Linked DNA regions of Homo sapiens: all the other regions are linked to region 1. The links are contacts of gene promoters, found by promoter capture Hi-C in blood cells and fetal thymus (Javierre and others, 2016). All regions are on one chromosome and are shown on one strand. Each heading gives the region's core, a stretch centred on a gene start or on the middle of the fragment in contact. The rest is flanking DNA. Distances are from core to core; before and after follow the strand shown. Region 1 holds the start of G0S2 (G0/G1 switch 2). Region 2 has its middle 14 kb from the start of MIR205HG. Region 3 has its middle 25 kb from the start of LINC01698.

The links. Contacts are between HindIII fragments. The CHiCAGO score rates a contact against its expected background, and 5 or more counts as called.
Region 2: a fragment that was not itself captured here is called in contact with the fragment with the promoter of G0S2 in region 1 in 1 of 17 cell types (monocytes); the score reaches 8.2 in monocytes.
Region 3: a fragment that was not itself captured here is called in contact with the fragment with the promoter of G0S2 in region 1 in 1 of 17 cell types (monocytes); the score reaches 7.0 in monocytes.

What each region holds. Positions count from the first base shown.
Region 1 is chr1:209,673,896-209,677,339 of GRCh38, forward strand. It overlaps G0S2 (G0/G1 switch 2), which reads left to right and starts at 1,517. Exons shown (of 2, transcript NM_015714.4): 1 at 1,517-1,654; 2 at 1,758-2,495. The coding sequence starts at 1,790. The coding sequence ends at 2,101. All of the region lies in intron 1 of HSD11B1-AS1 (HSD11B1 antisense RNA 1), which reads right to left. RefSeq lists an enhancer at 1,629-2,477. The HindIII fragment of the contact is 4,554 bases long and covers 1,080-3,444 here.
Region 2 is chr1:209,413,521-209,416,688 of GRCh38, forward strand. No RefSeq gene overlaps it. Among named protein-coding and RNA genes, the nearest start is that of MIR205HG, 14 kb to the right of the region's middle. The HindIII fragment of the contact is 1,346 bases long and covers 1,102-2,447 here.
Region 3 is chr1:209,394,975-209,398,348 of GRCh38, forward strand. No RefSeq gene overlaps it. Among named protein-coding and RNA genes, the nearest start is that of LINC01698, 25 kb to the left of the region's middle. RefSeq lists an enhancer at 1,717-2,599. The HindIII fragment of the contact is 5,635 bases long and covers 1-3,374 here.

The sequences.
Region 1 (3,444 bases), core at 267-2,766:
AAGGGTAGTTGTTATTGCTGCCTTTTTAAACTGAATCATCTGAGAAATTGCTTCAGACCCCCAAAGAAAGATTACTGTTAACAATTCAAAAACTAAAATATTTGATCCCTGAGACAGCCTTTTCCCCCGACCCGCCCTTCAGGGCTCAGTCCGACCGACTGCAAAGGCTGTTGCAAGATTGCATCACTGACCTTTGCAATTTTCTGGCCAGTTTGATTTCCCCTTCTTTCCCCTGCCCCCTCCCTTTCTCTGCTTAAAGGCCTTTGGCCAATTTGCCTCTCCTTTTCCCCAAGTTTGCTAACCCTTTGGCCAATTTGCCTCTCTTTTTCCCCAAGTTTGCTAACTCTAGCATATCCATAACCAAAGCCAAACTAGAACGCTCCCTCAGCCCCAGGTGATTACAGCTAACCCTGGTCAAAATCAATCCTACATCTTCACACGTCCAAGAGTACTCACACTCTGGATTCTTACCTAAGCTGTCTACTACACGCCCTTCTGCCCACAAACTGCTTCAAAGCTGAAGTTGAGCTGGAGCAGTGAAGTTGTACCCCCAAACCCAGGAGGGTGGCAGAGAATTATTGAGGAGAGCATGAAATACTTCCATTCTAAAATGGCAGATGAACTTCTACCAACAGCCCCTTCCATACTTGACCCCCTACCCCCAAGCTCCCAACTCCACTTCTCAAGTGGAAGTGAGAACAATTTGAATTTGAAGGCTCTTCCCTGATACACGGAAGTACATAAGGAAACAGCTCGCAGGCAAAGAGACTAATCTCTCTCTCTTTCTCTCTCTCTCTCTCTCTCTCTCTCTCTCTCACACACACACACACACACACACACACACCTCTGTGCATAAAAGCACCATCAATGAATAGTTTTCTATCAACTGACTCTAGTTATACATGCATGTACCTCTAAATAAAACCAACCAGGCAGGAAAGAAACAATATTAGCACATATTGCTTTATCCAAGCGTAACCTGTTCTGTCCTGTTACCCAGATCCTTCCCCCTTGCCTTCTCCTCTCTGATCCATTGCCACACACGTGGGAAGGTGACAACCCTTCCGAATAAAAATGAAAGCTTTCTTCTTTAGATGGAACCCCCAAATTCCCTCATTATTTATAATGTCAGGCTGTCCTGGACAAGGGAAGCTGTGCACCCGCTGACACCAGTAAGAAGGTTGCCGCCATGTCAGAGATGTCCGCGGACACCTCCCTGGGCTCCGGGTCCTCCCCTGCGCTCGCCTGGAGTGGGACCTTCGCGTGCACACTGGCCTTCCCACGCGCCCCGCTGCGATGGCACCCGCGCCGGGCCCCCTAGCTCACACAGTCGGAGCGTGCTCAGCGCGTGGCCACCTCCTGCCAGGTCCCAGCCGGGTTCCACCCCCTCCTTTTCCCCTCCTCTTCTTCCTCCCCCTCCGAGTTCCCCTGGCTCTGACCGCGCTGGCCTGGGCCGGAGAGCCCAGGAGGCGTGTCTCAGAGAAAAGATATAAGCGGCCCCCGGACGCTAAAGCGGTGCCAGCGGCGGAGTCTCCAACTGGGAGAGCTGCAGCTGCCGAGAGGAGGAGAACGCTGAGGTCGGTCGGACCAACGGACGCGCTGACCGCTGCCAACTGCAGCTCGCGCTGCCTCCTGCTCGCGCCGTGCCACTAAGGTAGTCCGCCTTTCTATGAGCCCTCCCCAAGATTAGCTGGGTGCGGGGTGGTGGGAGCCGTTCTTTGGTGGCTGAAGCCCCTCTCCTGCTGCTCCTCCTGCAGGTCATTCCCGCCTCCGAGAGCCCAGAGCCGAGATGGAAACGGTCCAGGAGCTGATCCCCCTGGCCAAGGAGATGATGGCCCAGAAGCGCAAGGGGAAGATGGTGAAGCTGTACGTGCTGGGCAGCGTGCTGGCCCTCTTCGGCGTGGTGCTCGGCCTGATGGAGACTGTGTGCAGCCCCTTCACGGCCGCCAGACGTCTGCGGGACCAGGAGGCAGCCGTGGCGGAGCTGCAGGCCGCCCTGGAGCGACAGGCTCTCCAGAAGCAAGCCCTGCAGGAGAAAGGCAAGCAGCAGGACACGGTCCTCGGCGGCCGGGCCCTGTCCAACCGGCAGCACGCCTCCTAGGAACTGTGGGAGACCAGCGGAGTGGGAGGGAGACGCAGTAGACAGAGACAGACCGAGAGAGGAATGGAGAGACAGAGGGGGCGCGCGCACAGGAGCCTGACTCCGCTGGGAGAGTGCAGGAGCACGTGCTGTTTTTTATTTGGACTTAACTTCAGAGAAACCGCTGACATCTAGAACTGACCTACCACAAGCATCCACCAAAGGAGTTTGGGATTGAGTTTTGCTGCTGTGCAGCACTGCATTGTCATGACATTTCCAACACTGTGTGAATTATCTAAATGCGTCTACCATTTTGCACTAGGGAGGAAGGATAAATGCTTTTTATGTTATTATTATTAATTATTACAATGACCACCATTTTGCATTTTGAAATAAAAAAACTTTTTATACCATATCTCATGTAATTCCTGAGAGGTGTGGTGTCCTGGGGTGGGAAGCAGGGAGGGTGAGCAGGTGGGCGATGGTGATGGGTTCTTACCTGAGCACTGCAGAGGGAGCAGCTTCCTGAGGGTCAGACACTTGCTTCACACCTAGGAACTGTGTAATAAGTTACTACATGCATATAAGTCTGTTGAGGACTTGTTTTTCCTTCTTGTTAGGGGTGGGAAGAGAGAAAATTTTATAACTTCCGTGAGATTTAGCATTTTAACATCAAAAGGTAGATCAACTTCTGAGCTACAGTGAGTAGGAGATAACTGATTAATTCTAAGGCAGAAAAGCTCTTTGTTCCTTACACCTGTGCACCAGAGGTTCCCATGGCTGATACCTTTTTCTTCCCAACTATATTTTAGACAGACAGACAGAGAGAAGGAAAGAAAATGAAGGAGGGAGGTCTGGAGGTGAAGGGAAGGAAAGAAAGGAAAAACTATCTACCTGGCAGGAAAAGAGATAAGCTCCCAAGAACACCAAAGCAGATGATGAGTCTAGCTCTACCCAGCCTTCCTCCCCACGAATCCAGATCATAGTAAGAAACTCTGGGCTAGAAAGAGAAAAAAACCGGTTGTTACATATCTGAGTCCTCCTCCTCCAGTGTACAGAGCTTCATCTGTAGTAATAGCTAATTCAGTGACTCTATAGGGCTCAGCAAAACAAATTTTAAACTTTAAAGAAGTAGCCAGGAGCCAGAGGCATGGCCTTGATGCTAGTCTCCTCACATTTTTCATGTCACCTGTCCTAATCAGGTACTGACACTTTACTCCTTTCATCAACAGCTATGCATTTTTGCCAAACATATCACTGGCTCACACCATTGCCTCTGCTCAGACTCTCTCCTTCGTCCAATGCCCTACACACATCTCCATTTCATTTCTGCCAACTCAATTCCTACCAAGTGTTCCTGGCCC
Region 2 (3,168 bases), core at 525-3,024, 260 kb before region 1:
TCCGCTCTTGTTGCCCAGGCTGGAGTGCAATGGCATGATCTCAGCTCACTGCAACCTCTGCCTTCCAGGTTCAAGCGATTCTCCAGCCTCAGCCTCCCAAGTAGCCAGGATTACAGGCAGCAGCTACCATGCCTGGCTAATTTTTGTGTTTTTAGTAGAGACGGGGTTTCACCATGTTGGCCAGGCTGGTCTCAAACTCCTGACCTGAAGTGATCCCCCCGCCTCAGCCTCCCAAAGTGCTGGGATTACAGGCATGAGCCACTGCGCCCGGCCTTCCTAACGCTTTTTAGATCTGTCTCAGTCCACATGGAGAGTCCATGTGGCAGCATCACCATAAGCAAAGTGCTTCTCCCTGAGTCCAGCACTGAGTTCCTCAAGGGAACATTTTTTTCCAAGGGCATAGATCCTCTGCAGGTACTTTCTTTAAAAAGGTTATTAACAAGGGAGGTAGAATAAAATAGCAGGGGCTGGGCTGAGCAAAGAGAAGGAAAACGGGTGGGGTGTTACAGTGTGCAACCAAACAGGGTGGGGCTGAGGCTGCCTGTCAAGTACATGAACCTACTTCAATCCCAGACATTTAGATGGCAAATCAAGCCCACATTTTGGGGCTAAAATTTATTTGTTCTTGGCTGAGGAATATTTCAGGTTTTCAAAAAGGACAGAAGAAATGAGAAATCAGAACCCTAAAGGTCTTATTCTTCAATGACACTCAAATTCTTCTATCAAGAGAAAAGCATCAGAAATGTACACATTTTCCCAAAACATCTCCACCCACAGCACAAACACACTTTTAGATTACCAGAAAGAGTTTTCCCAGAAATGGCCACTTAGAACATTAACTAATGAAAGAGAAAAATAGCAAGCTCATCTTCACAGTTGACTCAAGACCCATTTCATTCCAACTTCTGGCCAAATAGAAAAGTCAAACTAGGAAGGGTGTGCTAGCATTTTCTAAGTACAGAGACAAAACAGCAGCAAAACTATTCTTCTTTTCTTTTCCCCTTTCCTTCCAATTTCCTACAATAATCAAGTTCTGATGAGGGATCTTTAAGAACCACCAACTGGGCCACCAACCTTGAAGGAATCCAGACCCCGGGGACAAGCTTAGGCTAACACAAGAAACCAGCTGTTAGCCTCACAGGGGCATTTGAGATCTTGGGGTTAGCACTGTTAGTAAGCCCAGCTGAAGCTAAACTCTGGGTATTTTTACAGATTAGAATTGATATAAAAGTATCCTTGAGTTTTTATCACTTTACAGTTTACAAAGAGCTTCCATATATTTCAGTTCCTCCTCACCACCACACTGTGGGGTTTACCATGCTGTGTTACACATAGAAAAACTGAGGCCCGCAGAGGTGGAGAAACCCAAGAGAGCAATGTTAGAAACCTCCAGAGCTAGGACCAAAATATAGGTCTTTAAGTCCAAGCCAGCTGTCATATCCCAGGTGCTGAAGAGAGAATAGGGATCCGGCGAGATGAGGGAGGAGACATACGTTAGGAAGCACAAATGCCTAGAAGAGTCATGCTAATAAGGCACCTGTAGTGAGCATTTTCCTGCTGGAAACACAAATCCCCCTGTCACATGCTGTGTCACCAGCATTTACTAACATGCATTCTGCAGGGTCAGGTGATTTCCCCTCTTTTTCCCTCTCTGGCTAAGCCCAAGAACAATCCAACCTGTTTACCATGACTGGTTCCCCATCAGGGATACAACTAGTGCACCGAGGCAAGAAAGAGATGTGGTCCACACTTCCTACACCAACTGACCATGCCCACATTCTACGATGAAAGTCACGATGCTCCCGTGGTCTTCTTGTCACTTAGCTCTCTGGATCACAGAACTGTACAGACCAGTACTTCTCAAACTTGGATGAATTGCCTGGGGATCTTGTGAAAAGGCTGATTCTGATTCAGTGGGTCTTAGGTAGGGTCTGATATGATGCATCCCTAACAAGCTCCCAAATGCTTGCTGCTGGCTGAGGACCACACTTTGAGTAGCAAGAAGATGGAGACTGTCAAAGCTAGAGAGACCATAGAGATCATCTTTCTCAGTGCCTTTCACACTGTGTTTTCCTGGGAAGTTCTGATAAGGTATTTCAGGAGATCACTTGAAAGACAAGGAGGAAACCAAGGGTCCCCCTGTACCTTTACTTTAAGCAGAATTGCTGTTTTCTCTTTCTAGAAAATGGAATTCCTTATAAAATTTCATTTGATAAATGGGTTCCTTTATTTTTATAAGTTTGAAAGCTACCACTTTAATATAACAGCCTCATTTTACAGAAGAGGAGCTTAAGAATAAGAGAAGGCAGGTGAGTCACATGAGGTGACACAGCCAATTGGTGGCCAAGCCAAATCAGAATCCTGGGCTCTTTTCCCCACTCTACTCTTGCTCTCTGTGGGGGAAAATTTCAAATGTCATAATTCCGTGGTTTCTCCTCTTTCCCTTAAGCTTACCAAAGTAAACCCACCAGAATCCAGCAACACCTCAGTCCTCAGCAGGTGGATGCCCTGCCTCTCCCTACTGAGGGCTGGCTCTTCACAACTGCCCTGCCATCCCCACCTGACAAGTCAGGGCAGCCAGTGGAGGAGGGAATAAGCTTACTGAAGCAAGGCAAAAGTAAGACACGTTCCCAGAGGCAGGACTGGGGCCAGCTGTGGAATTATTCCACAGAGGGCAGGTGTGTGCTTGCAAGACCTCAGAATTCCTTGTCTCCAAGGAGGGGCCCAATTGACTCATCAGGGTACTTCCAGACAGTTTACTTCAAGCTGATTTGCAGCCGGCATGCTGGGGCAGCTGCAGGGCCCCAGCTGTACAGGAGGATTTGTCACCAGCAGGAGCAAAGCAGGAGCTGGGGGAAGTGTGTGGAGGCAGGGGAAAATCCCAGTGAAGGGGATATCTAGTACAAAGCCTGTGACCATGAAAGATCAGGCAGTCTGATTGTGAGGCCAGCAAGATTGGGCCAAGAGCAATTTAAGGAAAACAGAAGACATGGTCCCCTGACCCAAGGACTCTACAATCTGGATAGACTGTGAAAAGGTTACTAATATATGTGAAACAATTAGTGGACACTGCAAAACAGCATATAATTAAAAGCTAAACTGAGGGCTTCAAATGTAACAGACACAGGTCATAGCAAAAAAAAAAGACCACCTTTGACTGAGACATCT
Region 3 (3,374 bases), core at 397-2,896, 280 kb before region 1:
CCAGAGTCCAAATCTAAATGTCTTCTTTAGGGCTGAAAGTGGTCATATTCAAATTAAAGGTCACCCAAATAACTTCTTTTGTGGGTTAAAATCTCTGACATGAGGACTCTAGGAAGAAGAACAGTTTTTTAAAAGGTGGACATGTACAATCTGGTCCTTCTATTGAAAGCCTTAAGGGGTCTGTGAAGATGATGAACAAATGGGAAGTGTTCCAGTTTTATCCTATAATTCGGACTTGTTTCTGGAGGGAAAAAAAAAAAAAAGTAAAATCCGGAGGAGATGCATCCAAGCTCTCCATAAACAGAGCTTTGAAGAGCAAATTGAGCGGCTTTCATCAATCACACACAGACCACAGCAAACACAGCCCGAGGAGAATCACTCACCCAGTGTCAGGCAGGGTCAGGCAAACGTTATCAAACGCTCTTTCAAGCTATTATGAACCAGAATCAGAGGGAGAGAAGGAAGTAGAGGAGTGCCAAAAATAAGATCCCGAGGGGAAGGGAGGCAAATAAGGCAAGAAAGAGATGCAGTGGCAAAGAGGATGTGGAGGGAAGAGAAAGAGAGGAAGAAAGAGTGAGGAAAAGACACAGGAAAATATATAAGTAGGTAGCAAGACACAGAGAGCAGAAGGGAAGCAGAGAGAATGGCGCAGCAAAACAGAACAAAAGTAAATCAACAGCAGCAAAAGGAAAGCTGGAAAACAAGGTGGAGAGAAATAATCTTTCCCCATGGGTGGGGTGGAGGCCACACTGGCAGCCATCTGTCCTGAGGATATGTCATCTACGTGACCTTTCATTGAAAATTAGCCAAAATAGTTCAAGTTTCTGTGTATAGAGGAATATCATCATGTCTCAGTGAAAGGAAAGAAAAAGCAAACACTTCAATCATCTTCCTCTCCAGCTCCCCAAACTTATTCACTAGGAGGGACTATTTGATCATTCTGGATGGTTTCACTCAGGACCTGAAAATGAGAACAGCCATTAGAAACCAGCTCGATGCCCACCCAATCCCCCACAGGAGTGATTTTACCTTTTATTACAACAAAGCTCAGGCAGTCATATACCCACTCAAGTTGTAAATCTGCCTTCTTCACAGATCAAGTTCGATTTTCCAACTAATTAGAGAAAAACAAACCCACTCCTGGGTCAAAACCAAGCAAACATCCCCATCTCTGTATAGGACCTGGCTCTGTCTTAATTAAGAGGTAAGGGCCTGGGTGCCTGGGTGTTCCTTGGGGAACTTTGAGGGGCCAGGGGTCAGCAGGAGGGCAACCAGTGCAAGAAGAGAGCCAGTGCACCAAGGAAAATAAATGAGGAATGGGAGATAGAGGAGCCTTCTCCAAAACAAACTTTGCTAATTTACACGCTTACTCCATAAGAAGATATTGCAAATGGCAATGCATGAAGAGACAGAGTCCTCAAGACAGCCTAACTATTGGTACACCCTGAATATCAGTTACAATTAGGCGAGGTACTAGGAGCCAGTTGATAGTGGCTCCCAATTCTTAACTGAAGAGTTCAGATAGGAGCTGAGAGAATAACAATAGCTAGAATTTATTGAGCCAATCATTTTTACATGCACCATTTTATTTAACCCTCACAATAACCCTATCTAATAGACATTCTTCTAATTATTATTCCCATTTTACTGATGAAGAAACTGAGGCTCAAAGAGGTTACATAACTGGCCCAAAGTCATACAGTGAGCAAGTACAGAAGTGGAAATCTGAGCTTGCAACTGACTCCAGAGCTGGTCTCAGCCACTCTGTGGCCTGCATTGCTCCAGTAGCAGATGGGTCTGATAGAAGAGCATGTTGGCCCTGTGTACTTGTGAACAGCATGCAGGATGGAGAGAAAGGGGACAGTCCTGGAAGCAGGGACTCAGAAGCAGCCTCAATCCAGTTGGGAAGGAATCAGGGTTTTGAATAGGATGGTAACAGTCCATGTCGCAAAGATGAGGCCAATTTACCATATGAAACAATTTTGAGCTTTTGGATAAATGGCACAGTCACTGGCTGAGACAGGAGGTAGCATTACTGTGGGCAGCAACAAGTTTAGGGAGCTCTCTAAACTTTCCTATTTCTCTTTATGAAAGCAAAAGACCAGAAAATTATCTATAATTACTGAGCCATCAGCACTTAATTACAGCATCTCTTGCATGGGCCAACATGGCAAATGACTTCACACCACTAATGAGTGTCCTGAGCTCCTCTTCCCACTCCCAGTTTGACCTGGAATACACTGGCACGAACAGCCCTTCCAGTCCACTCTATACAGCAGAGGTATCAGAGTACAGGCTGTGTGGCCAGACAGACCTGTGTTCAGATCCTGTCCCCACCACTCACTAACTGAGGAACTTTAGACACTATTCAACTTCTCTGAGCCACAGTTTCCTCATCTGTAAAATGGGGGCTGTAAAATACATCAGTCCTGGGGAATGTCAGGATAAAATAAAAAGATAAATGCATAACATCTAGGACAATGCCTAACATATAATAAGCACTCTTTTAAAAAGCTATTATTATTGTATATTTCCACCCCTTCATCTGACTCATTTGAAGCTGAAAGAGGAAGAGGCAAACCGAGTGAAATTGCTTACATAAAAGCCAGATAGAGCCTGGCTATTCCACCGAAGGCAATAATTATAAAGCTGCTTCAGAGCACAGAGAGTTCCAAGAATGGAATACGCATTTGAAACAAGTTCATTAAAAAATTGCTTACTCATAAAAGCTACTATCGTTATAGCCTGACAAATGGAAGACACGACACTAATAAATAAGGAGCCGGTGGTAAACAAGCTGACTACACCAAGAATCCCTTGATTTCTCTCTTCCCCATCCTTCAACTGTTTCTTAATCTTTTATGGGCTTATAATGACAAGTTCAGGTGGGTTTTATGTGCCTGTTTACTCTGAGTTTTCTCCAAACTCCAAATGGAAGGGAAGAAGCCTCCAGGCTTCTCTACTTAGTCTCCCAGAATGGAATGAGGCAGTCTCGGCACCCAGCAGGCCTGGCTGCCACCTCTTTGCACCACAGAGTCAGCTCAGGCCTTTCCTCACCTCCACATCCTATCTAGAGACCTCTAAACCCTCACACCTTTGCACCAATGCATCTCCTCCTGCCTCATGGGTCCATTCCAAGGAGAGTGTCCTGCTGTTTTGCGGGACACTCTCCCAGTCAGTGTCCCGCTGTTTTTCCCTTCCAGTCAGTGTCCTGCTGTTTTGCCCCAGCCCAAATAGATCACATTCTCAGTTGTGGAATGAGTCCCTAACAGAAAGTCAGGAGACTGGGATGATTATGCAGTCCAGATGCTTACTAGCTGGACATTGCCACTCAACTTCCCTGAGTCTCAGTTTTGCTGTCTATAACCTGGGGA